Linked DNA regions of Homo sapiens: regions 1, 2 and 3 are each linked to region 4. The links are contacts of gene promoters, found by promoter capture Hi-C in blood cells and fetal thymus (Javierre and others, 2016). All regions are on one chromosome and are shown on one strand. Each heading gives the region's core, a stretch centred on a gene start or on the middle of the fragment in contact. The rest is flanking DNA. Distances are from core to core; before and after follow the strand shown. Region 1 has its middle 2.7 kb from the start of TMEM65. Region 2 has its middle 8.7 kb from the start of TYW2. Region 3 has its middle 30 kb from the start of TMEM65. Region 4 holds the start of FER1L6 (fer-1 like family member 6).

The links. The method cuts DNA at HindIII sites, captures the fragments that hold promoters and counts their contacts. A CHiCAGO score of 5 or more calls a contact.
Region 1: a fragment that was not itself captured here is called in contact with the fragment with the promoter of FER1L6 in region 4 in 1 of 17 cell types (M2 macrophages); the score reaches 9.1 in M2 macrophages.
Region 2: a fragment that was not itself captured here is called in contact with the fragment with the promoter of FER1L6 in region 4 in 1 of 17 cell types (M1 macrophages); the score reaches 5.8 in M1 macrophages.
Region 3: a fragment that was not itself captured here is called in contact with the fragment with the promoter of FER1L6 in region 4 in 10 of 17 cell types (fetal thymus, M0 macrophages, total CD4 T cells and 7 more); the score reaches 8.8 in fetal thymus.

Annotation. Positions count from the first base shown.
Region 1 is chr8:124,374,073-124,376,772 of GRCh38, reverse strand. No RefSeq gene overlaps it. Among named protein-coding and RNA genes, the nearest start is that of TMEM65, 2.7 kb to the right of the region's middle. The HindIII fragment of the contact is 601 bases long and covers 1,124-1,724 here.
Region 2 is chr8:124,440,781-124,443,480 of GRCh38, reverse strand. No RefSeq gene overlaps it. Among named protein-coding and RNA genes, the nearest start is that of TYW2, 8.7 kb to the left of the region's middle. RefSeq lists an enhancer at 2,652-2,700. The HindIII fragment of the contact is 6,278 bases long and covers 1-2,700 here.
Region 3 is chr8:124,401,450-124,404,149 of GRCh38, reverse strand. No RefSeq gene overlaps it. Among named protein-coding and RNA genes, the nearest start is that of TMEM65, 30 kb to the right of the region's middle. The HindIII fragment of the contact is 1,119 bases long and covers 770-1,888 here.
Region 4 is chr8:123,850,647-123,853,415 of GRCh38, reverse strand. FER1L6 (fer-1 like family member 6) reads right to left here and starts at 1,429. Exons shown (of 41, transcript NM_001039112.2): 1 at 1,231-1,429. RefSeq lists a silencer at 1,717-1,865. The HindIII fragment of the contact is 9,737 bases long and covers 1-2,769 here.

The sequences.
Region 1 (2,700 bases), core at 175-2,674, 520 kb before region 4:
TTTTAAAGCAGAATAGCTGGGTGTATAAAGTTTCATCAATGGCAGGCAGCAAACAGCTGTGTGCCCTGCCAGCAACAGGGAAGCCAGGAACTCTGGAGCGTATTTATATGATGCAGCTTACCATGGACTGATGATTCAGCAGCAATTTTTCATGAGGAGGAAACTGTGATTGTTAACCGAGGTATGACAGTTGTCCTCTTTAAAAGCGAAGAACAGGCTGGGCTGAACTCAGGCCAAGTTTGCCTTCTGGGCTTTCCTTCCTTCTATCTTCCATTTCTGTAGCCCCTCCAGCCTGCTAGCATTTCCTCTTCAGCACCATCATATTTCTTCGGAAACTCCCCTTTGCCACCTGCATCTAGACCTGCTCCACAGCCCCATAAACGATCCCCAAATTATCTCCCTCCCTAGATCCTTCATCCATTCATATTTAGGATATTCAGGTGTTCAGAGAAGGAAGTGGTTAGGGGATGCAGTTAATACACATCCATGTATTAAATGACAGATAGCTAGGTGGGCATTTCTCAAATGAGGGTCCAAAGACATAATCGTAGAGATTTGAGAGGTCCGTGGGCATTTAGATAATAATAGCTAGTATTTATTGCATGCTTGTCATGTATCAGGTGCTGTTTGAAATGCTTTACATGTATTATTTGGTTTCACTATAACATTACAAAGCAGATGCCCTTATCTATATTTAACAGGTGAGCAAACTGAACATGTTCTTATTCCCATTAAACAGATGGGCAACCACGGAAAGGTTGATCAGCTCAAGGTTACACAGCTAAGAAATGACAGTATAAGGACTCAAATCCAGGCAGTCTGAGTCTAGAGCTAGTGCTCTCAACCCCAATGCTGTCATCTGGGGCTCAATTGAGCCTGGATGGTCCAAGATGCTGTCATGCATGTTTGGCAGTTAGCTGGGGCTGTTGGCTACGGCCTCCTCCTCCATTTGGTCTTTCCAGCAGGATACATCAGACTTCTTTATGCAGCAGCTGGATTCCAAAAGGTAAATGTCTTCGAGGCAATTTTTCCATGTGGAAAATTACCTTGATGCAATGGCAGCCTCCATGTATACACCTACAGGTCACGAAATAGATAGGCTTATAGGCCAAATTAAGAAGCTTAAATCACATTATCTGGTGGTTCTAAAACGTATCCTCAAAGGTTTTGGCATTACTCCTATTAAGATGTGGGGTTTATATCCCTTTCCCTTGAATAGGGGCTGGCCCTAGGGGTTGGCTTATAGCCAGTAGAATACAGTGGAAGTGATACTGTGTGACTTCCAAGGATAGGTCAGAAAACGCCACAAGCCTGCTTCTTTTTAGACATTCACTCTGGGGAAAGCCAGCTGTCTGGTGAGAAGATCACCATGCTGGAGTGGCTGTGTGAAAGTGCTCTGGTTCTCAGCCCCATTTGAGCTACCAGTCAGCCATGTCAGTGAGCCATCTTAGCTATTCAGCCCAGCTGAACTTTCAAATGACAGCAGTTGTGTTGAAATCTGATTGATACTACATAAACGACTCCAATAAAATAACTGTCCAAGTAAGTTCTTCCCCAATTTCTGAGCCTCAAAATTAAGAGCAAAATAAATTGGCTAATTAAACTACTAAGTTTTGGCATAATGTGTCTACCCAAAGAGCAGCAATAATAACCAGAAGAGTTTACCAACCAACATAAAACAGAGTGAGAAGCAAGGGGAAAGAGATAGGGTAGATTAATAAGCTTAGGATAGGCTGAAGGACCATAGCACCTAAATTCTGTTTTATGCAATGTTCTCATGTCTTATCCCTCTCCACCATCCAGTCTTCTCAGCACATAGTGTGGCTACAAGGACCAGACTGGAGAGTAAGTAAGGTGACTCAACAGACTGAAGGGGCCTGGGCTCAACATATGTCTGTTCTGTTACAGAGCTGAGGGGCAAGTGTGTCTGGTTATAATGGTAGCTGGCATTAGTTGGCTTTGTAGCTGGGGGTTTATCTGCTTTTCTTGGGAAGAGATTACATGAGGCCATAATAGCGTTACAATGGGTGTTACCAGTAGGTATGCAATTTAGGGATGACATGGCTGTAAATCTGAAGATAGTATGATCTGTACCTTATTAATACTTAAAAGTCCACTTTGTCTTTCTGCCTCTATCTAAAGCAGCATTTTCATTTGTTCCATCCTTTTTATCTATGTTCAACCCATATCCATTCATTCTATGTGTAACCTTTCTCATAAGTGACTTGCTTCTACATTTTAGTTTCTCTTGTTTTATAATAGAATTAAATATTCTATAGTAATATAGCAAAAGCATTACAGCAAACCCCAATGAGCAAACATGTATCATATCACGTTTATGATGTCCTCCTATTTATTGACCAAAACAAGTCAAATAGCCAAGCCCACAGTCAATGTAGAGGTGGACCACACAACGGAGCGGATAATAGAAGGTGTAGTTCATTGGGGATCACTACTATAACAATCTAATACTAACACATAGTTAGGAGACGGTTGATCCAGGGATCGAACTTTCCACAGTCTGTCTCTGGAGGCTACACACTAAACTACTATTCTGGAGGTGGTTGGGAATGGGTTCTTACTGAAGAACTTTTTTCAAACCTCACTTCCCAGGTCTGGGGCCTGTGATCCACCCCAGTGAATCAGAATATCTTGGGGGTAGGAAATTGTGGGGGGGATGGGGTGGTACTCCCATGAGCC
Region 2 (2,700 bases), core at 110-2,609, 590 kb before region 4:
GAGGTGGCTGTAATGGATGTCAAGTGGCAAGTTGAATCTGTATTCCAACATACAGCTACAGCTTTCAATACTACACAGCATGCCATTATCCTACTAACTGAAGAGACTTCTCAAATTAGACAGGTAGCCTTACGAAACTGCATGGCTTTGGACATTTTAACAGCGGCTCAAGGGAGATCTTGTGCTATCATCAAAATGGAATGTTGTTTGTATATTCCATAATATTAACATAATATTACTCAGGCCATGAAGGACTTAGACACCCATATCTCTGCCATTAACACACTGTCAGTTGACCCCATATCAGGGTGGTTCCAGCAATTGTCTGGTTCATGGAAAACCTTTTTGTTCAGATGCTTGGAACAGATTCTGTTTTGTTGCTGTGGAATGTATTGCTGTTGTAATTTTTGTGCAAGAAAACAAGGTAAACCTAGCCAGGCACAGTGGCTCACACCAGTAATCCCAGCACTTTGGGAAGCCGAGGCAAGCGGATCACCTGAGGTCAGGAGTTTTAAGACCAGCCTGGCCAACGTAGTGAAACTCCATCTCTACTAAAAATACAAAATTAGCAGGGCATAGTGGGACACAGCTGTAATCCCAGCTACTCAAGAGGCTGAGGCAGGAGACTCGCTTGAACCTGGGAGGCGGAGGTTGCAGTGAGCCGAGATCATGCCATTGCACTCCAGCCTGTGCAACAAGAGCAAAATGCCGTCAAAAAAAAAAAAAAAAAAAAAAAAAGAAAAGAAAAGAAAACAAGGTAAACCTATTAAATAGCTTCTTTAAATTGAACACTTACTAATTTTCCAGATTTCACCTTTTGTTGAAAGTCACAATAATGATTGGTCCTCACCACGCCAACACTTGCTGAGTGAACTCCTCTCCAATCTAAATACAAGGGATCCCAGTGGTTAGGGAGGAATATCATTGCTCCTGTTCACCTTGAAGACATTTATGAAGATGGACCTCTGTCCCTCTGTACCCCTTAGAATTAAGGATCCCCTTATAAAAGGGAGGAGGAAAATATATCAGAGGTGTCCAAACCAGAGTGACTCCGTCTTGAATAAGGCCAAATGAAGTGAAACCTGCTGGATTCCATTCCCAGGAAGCTAGGCACTCTCCTTCACAGGACCTTTATGGTTGAGAGAATGAGTTAATGATAAGTAAACAAGACCCAGAACTTAACAGAAAGTCTTGAAGTCCTGATATCTCAAGACCAAAAAGTATTCTTAGTCTAAGAATAGGCTTCTTATATTAATAGATAATAGGTTTCTTATACTAATAGGTAATAGTATATCCCTAAATTCCTGCTGAACTCAATAGTTACACAAGAGGATAACATCAGCCTGTCACAAGCTGGTCACAAGCCTTTATAATAAAGCACATAAGTTCATTATTATTCTTAGCTTGCTTTCTTCTTCTTGTTTTTTTTTTTTTTTTTTTTTTTTGAGACAGAGTCTCGCTTTGTTACCCAGGCTGTAGTGCAGTGGCATGATCTCTGTTCACTGCAACCTCTGCCTCCCAGGTTCAAATGATTCTTCTGCCTCAGCCTCCTTAGTAGCTGGGATTATGGGTGCACGCCACCACACCTGGCTAATATTTTATATTTTTGATGGAGACAGGGTTTCACCGTGTTGGCCAGGCTGGCCTTGAACTCCTGACCTCAAGTGATCCAGCCTCCCTGGCCTCCCAAAGTGTTGGGATTACAGGTGTGAGCCACCATGCCTGGCCAGCTCCCTTATTATATAGCATTTTATTTGTGTTCAGAGTCCTACTCTTGCTTTTTTTTTTCTTTTCCTTTTTTTTTTCTTTCAAGACAAGCCTTATCTGTCACCCAGGCAGGAGTGCAGTGGCACAATAATGGCTCACTGCAGCGTTGACATCCCAGACTCATGAGATCCTACTGCCTAGTCTCTCTAGCAGTTGGGACTGCAGGTATGCTACCATGCAGGGCAAATTTTTTTTATTTTTAGTAGAGATGGAGTCTCATTATGTTGTCCAGGCTGGTCTTGAACACCTGGTCTCAAGCAGTTGTCACACCTCATCTTCCAAAGTGCTGGGATTATAGGTGTGAGCTACGGTGCCTGGCCTCCTCTTGTTGTTAGTTCTGAGGATGCCCTACTCTGTAATAGAGTAGTCTTTAATAAACTTGCTTTTTTCACTGTGCTCTGTGACTGGCCCAGAATTCTTTCCTGTCAGAGATCCAAGAACTCACTCTGTGGTCTGGCTCCAGACCCCTTTCCTGTAACAGTTTGAGCAATAAAAGTAGCCCGGGCTGGTACCAAGCACCAAAGTCAGATTTCTCAACAGTCAGGACCACCTCCACTCAGAGTCCCTTCTGTTGGATGCCAATTTGTCAACCAAAATATGTCTGACACAAGTCTCAGTCAATTTAGAAGTTTGTAAAGTTTAGAAGCCAATGTAAGGCACACGCCAGAAGAAGGGAATATAGAAACCACAGAAACAGTCTGCGATCTGTGCCTTTCTCCAAAGATGATTTTGTGGGCTTCAATATCTAAAGGGGAAAAGCAGGCTGGAAAGAGGGAAGGTCCAGTCACATCACAGAATCCACATGTTGCAAGAGACAAGGAACAGGTAGGGGAATAGTCAGTTATGTATTTGTCTCATGCTCAGTAAATCGGCACTTGATAAGATAAGGTGGACAACCAGCAGCTGGAGATATCTGGCCTTTTATCTGTAGCA
Region 3 (2,700 bases), core at 80-2,579, 550 kb before region 4:
ATGCGGTGGCACGATCTCATCTTACTGCAACCTCCGTCTCCTGGATTCAAGCAATTCTCCTGCCTCAGCCTCTCGAGTAGATGGGATTACAGGCGTACACCACCATACCTGGCTAATTTTTTTTTTTTTTTGAGACAGAGACTCCCTCTGTTGCCCAGGCTGGAGTGCAGTGGCGCGACCTCAGCTCACTGCAAACTCCACCTCCTGGGTTCAAGCGATTCTCCTGCCTCAGCCTCCCAAGTGGCTGGGATTACAGGCATGTGCCAGCACACCCAGCTAATTTTTGTATTTTCAGTAGAGACGGGGTTTCAACATGTTGGCCAGGCTGCTCTTGAACTCCTGACCTCAGGTGATCCACCCGCCTCAGCCTCCCAAAGTACTGGCAATACAGACATGAGCCACCACGCTGTCATTGGTCTTAATGGACCTCGTATTTAGTGCATTTATGTTACAGAACTTTTCCTCAAATGATATATTTTCTAATGCTTCAGGGACAACATTGCATGAACAAATTATTTTGGATGATTAAGAAGGGTAGTGAGAATAGGAAATTCAAACTGGAGCATAATAAAGTCATTAGACATGGAGCTAGTCAGGCAACAGATAATTTATTGAGGGAAGTTGCTACTGGAGCTATGAAGAGGATAAACAGATTTTTGATTTTGAGAAAACTTGAAACTCATGCAGAAAGGTTGCAATGACTCATTGTCTCTCAGCTGTAAAAATATGTCAATGCTTGAATTTGTTGGGCTTTTGAGGAGAAAAAGCTTTGAACTCTGGAGCCATAGAGACCAGAGGTTTGAATCCTGTCCATCATTTATTAGTTGTGTGACCTTGGGCAAATTACTGAATATGTCTGCACCTTTAGTTTTTATCTAAAAAATGGGGATTAAAAATAGTTCCTCCCTGATAGAGTTATTAATGAAGATAAAGAGACATTATCTGTATTGAGGGTTTAAAACTGTAACTGAATCATGGTAAGCACTCAATAATGGTGAGTTATAATCACTGTTATTACTGTTAAATATTATCTATAAATTGGAGACACCAAAAGCCACTTTTCAAGGCTAACAGAATAAGTGAGATGAAGAATACAAAATACCTAGCACAGTATATGCCATGCATGGAATTCTAACTGTTAGCTATTTCTCTGAAATTGATCAGCAAATCTAATTATCTAATCATTTAACTGAGAAGTGATAGAGCAATTGAGAAGTAGTAGAGGGAAAAAGTAGAGCTCTCCCTCTCTTGAACCACTTACTGATTAATGGTAGCCTTTGAAAGTCTTTCCGGGCTGGGTGTGGTGGCTCACGCCTGTAATCCTAGCGCTTTGGGAGGCCAAGGAGGGTGGATTGTCTGAGCTCAGGAGTTCGAGACCAGCCTGGGCAACATGGTGAAACCCCATCTCTACTAAAATACAAAAAATTAGCCAGGCATGGTGGTGTGTACTTGTAACCCCAGCTACTCGGGAGGCTGAGACACAAGAATTACTTGAACCCAGGAGGTGGAGGTTCAGTGAGCCAAGATTGTGCCACTGCACTCCAGCCTGGGCAACAGAGCCAGACTCTGTCTCAAAAAAAAAAAAAAAAAAAAAAAAAAAAAAGGCTTTCCAAATGGTAAAGCAGAGACTCTGATGGAAATAGCTTCAGGATTGAGGAGTCCTGAGGTGTCTGAAGAGATGAGGAAGATTCAAGCAAGCACAACTTCAATTAGCCACATTCTTTTTGAGAGCCTACATCTGTTCTCTACCTTCAGCTCAAAGTGTTATGAGCCTTTCAACAAATAACCCTCATTTTTTTCATAATAAGAACTCTGCAGCTCTCTTTAATTCCAAAGCTAATGTTCTTGGCAACTTTGTAATAGAGATGTAACCACTCAAAATAAAGCTTTCACTTATTGAATTTATATGATGTACTCCAGGCATTATGAAAAACTCTTCATATACATTATCTAATTTAAGTACAGTCATGTGCCACACAATGACATTCCAGTCAACAATGGACCACATATATATGTGCTGGTGGTCCTGAAAGATTATAATCTTTATCATCTAACCTATAAGCTGAAAAATTCTTATTGCCTGGTGATGTTGCAGACATTGTAACCTCACAGCACGAAGCATTACTCATGTGTTTGTAGTGATGCTGGTATAAACAAAGCTACTGCACTGCCAGTCATAGAAAAGTATAGCACATAGAGTTGTAACCACCCAAGGGGTTCACCTTGCCTCCTGCCTAGACAGAGCCAATTCATCAAGACAGGGGAATTGCAATAGAGAAAGAGTAATTCACACAGAGCTGGCTATGCGGGAGACCAGTTTTATTATTACTCAAGTCAGTCTCTCAAGCATTTATTTGGGGAGCAGAGGTTTTATTTTATTTTTATTTTTTTGAGACAAAGTATTGCTCTTTCCCCAGGCTGGAGTGCAGTGGTGCGATCTTGGCTCACTGCAACCTCTGCCTCCTGGGTTCAAGTGATTCTCCTGCCTCAGCCTCCCAAGTAGCTGGGAGTACATGCCTGCCAACACGCCCAGCTAATTTTTGTATTTTTAGTAGAGGTGAAGTTTCACCACGTTGGCCAGGATGGTCTTGATCACTTGACCTCGTGATCCGCCCGCCTCGGCCTCCCAAAGTCCTGGGATTACAGGCGTGAGCCACTGCACCTGCCCTACAGAGCAGAGTTTTTAAGCATGATTTGGTG
Region 4 (2,769 bases), core at 180-2,679:
TGGGAGGCTGAGGTGGGTGGATCGTTTGAGGTCAGAAGTTTGAGACCATCCTGGCCGTCATGGTGAAACCCCGTCTTCTCTAAAAATACAGAAATTAGCCGGGTGTGATGGCAAGCACCTGTAATCCCAGCTATTCTGGAGCCTGAGGCACGAGACTCACTTGAACCTGGGAGGTGGCGGCTGCAGTGAGCCAAGATTGTACCACTGCACTCCAGCCTGGGCTATAGAGTGAGACTGTCTCAAAAAAAGATTTCGTCTATTTTAAAGTCTGAGGGTGGGCACAGTGGCTCACGCACGTAATCCGAGCACTTTGGAAGGCTGAGGCAGGAGGATCGCTTGAGCCCAGGAGTTTGAGACCAACCTGAGCAACATAGCGAGGCCCCGTCTCTACAAAAATAAGAATAAAATTGATCTGATAGGTAGCTAAATAGACACATAGAATACATCTATATCTAATACATATTTCATATATGATATATGATATATAACCTTAGGGATGATTACATTTGCCTCAAAATCCATCTCCAAAAATTACAATGTGGGATTCTGGACTGGCTCCTAGAACAGAAAAAGACATTCGTGGAAAAACTTGTGAAATCCAAATAAAGCGTGGAGCTTAGTTAATAGTAATGCTGCATTTTCAGTTTCTTCATTTTCATAAATGTACCATGGTAATATAAGATGTTACCATTAGGGAAAACTGAGTGAGAAATTTAAGAGAACTCAATTATCTTTGCAACTTTTCTGTAAAATAAAAATTTATGTTTTAAAAGTCTAACAATCTTGTGAGAGGCCCCACATTTTCTATGAGTTCCTGAGGCAACTTCCTCATGCTTTTTGTCTCTATAATCCCCCAAAATTTTACCAGTCTCTCTTCTTTCTCCTCCCTCTGTCTCTGTCAAACACACACACACACACACACACACACACACACACACACACACGCATGCTCACAACATGGAGTTCAAGCAACAAGGTCAACCTGGCTACAGCGACCACTGAGTACCCAATCTGCCAACAGCAGAGACCAATGCTGAGTCCCCAATATATGGCACCATTCCCTGGGGTGACCAGCCAGCTACCTGGAGGCAGGTTGATTACATTGGACTGCTTCCATTGTGGAAGGGAGGGGAAGCATTTTGTCCTTACTGGAATACACATTTGCTCTGGATATGAACTTGCCTTCCCTGCACACAATGCTTCTGTAGAATCTATTATCTATGGACTTACAAAATGCCTTGTCCACCTTCACGATGGTCCACACAGCATTGCTCTGATCAAGGGACTCACTTCACAGCAAATGAAGCGCAGCAGTGGGTTCGTGCTCGTGGAATTCACTGGTCTCACGGTGTTCCCAACCGTTCTAAAGCAGCTGGCTTGACGGAATGGTGGAATGGCCTTTTGAAGTCAGTTACAGGCAACCTCACCAACTAGGTGACAGTACTTTACAGAAGTGGGGCAAGATTCCACAGAAAGCTGTGTATTCTTTGAATCAGCATCCAGTCAGGTGCTAGTCAGGACTCATGGGTCCAGAGATCAAGGGGTAAAAATGGGATGGCACCACTTGCTATTACCCCTAATGACTCACTAGCAAAATTTTTGCCTCTTGTTCCTTTATTATCCTGTTAGCCTAGAGATCTTAGTTCCAAAAAAGAATGCTTCCACTAGCAGATACAACAGTGATTCCATTGCACTGAAAGTTAAGGCCACAGCCAGCCACTTTGGGCTCCTCATACCTCTGAATTGACAGGCAAAGTTTTGGTGTTGTCTAGGGCGACTGATCCTGACTACCAAGGGGAAAATGTGCTACTATTCCACAATGGAGGCAAGAAAGAATATGTCTGGAATACAGGAGATCCCTTAGGGCATCTCTTAGTATTACCATACCCTGTGATTAAAATTTGTGATTAAATTCATGGAAAACTACAATAATCCAATTCACGCAGGACTACTAATGGCCCAGACCCTTCAGGAATGAAGGTTTGGGTCATCCTACCAGGTAAAGAACCTCAACCAGCTGAAAGGTTTGCCAAGTACAAAGGGAATTCAGAATGGGTAGCAGAAGGTAGTTCTAAGTATCAGGTACAACCATGTGCCCAGTTACAGAAATGAGGACTGTTATTGTCATGAGTTTATTTTGTGGTGAACATATTTGTGTACATATATGTACATTGCCTCACACAGAACATTTCGTGACTCTAGAAATTCCCTGGAGATTTGGTGGAGGTTCCAGCGCCCAGTAGACCTACAGCCATCACCATTCCCTCTCCCCTCCTGCTCCCCCGGGGAAATGATCGACATTTCTTGCACTTTCTTATTAAGAATTGTTATGCAAAAACACAAGTTCCCCAAACCTTTTCTTCTAGCACACACTTCCTGGGGGTACTTTAGCAAACAGAAGAATTCCAGGGCCAGTTGAGAACACAAGTATGTTCATAGCGGCTATATTCATAATACGCAAAAGTTGAAAACAACCTAAATATCCAACAGCCATAAAAAGGATAACTAAATTTCAGTATATTTTCACAATGGAATATCACACAGAAACAAAAAAAAACTATGACCATGAGCAACAACATGAACTAGTCTCACAAACTGATGAGGGAAGGAACCAGACACAAGAGTACAAATTGTATCATTCCACATATATGAAACTCAAAGATACACAAAAGGTGATAAAAGTCAAAATAATGGTTGCCTCGGCTGGGCACGGTGGCTCACACCTGTAATACCAGCACTTTGGGAGGCTGAGTTAGATCATGAGGTCAG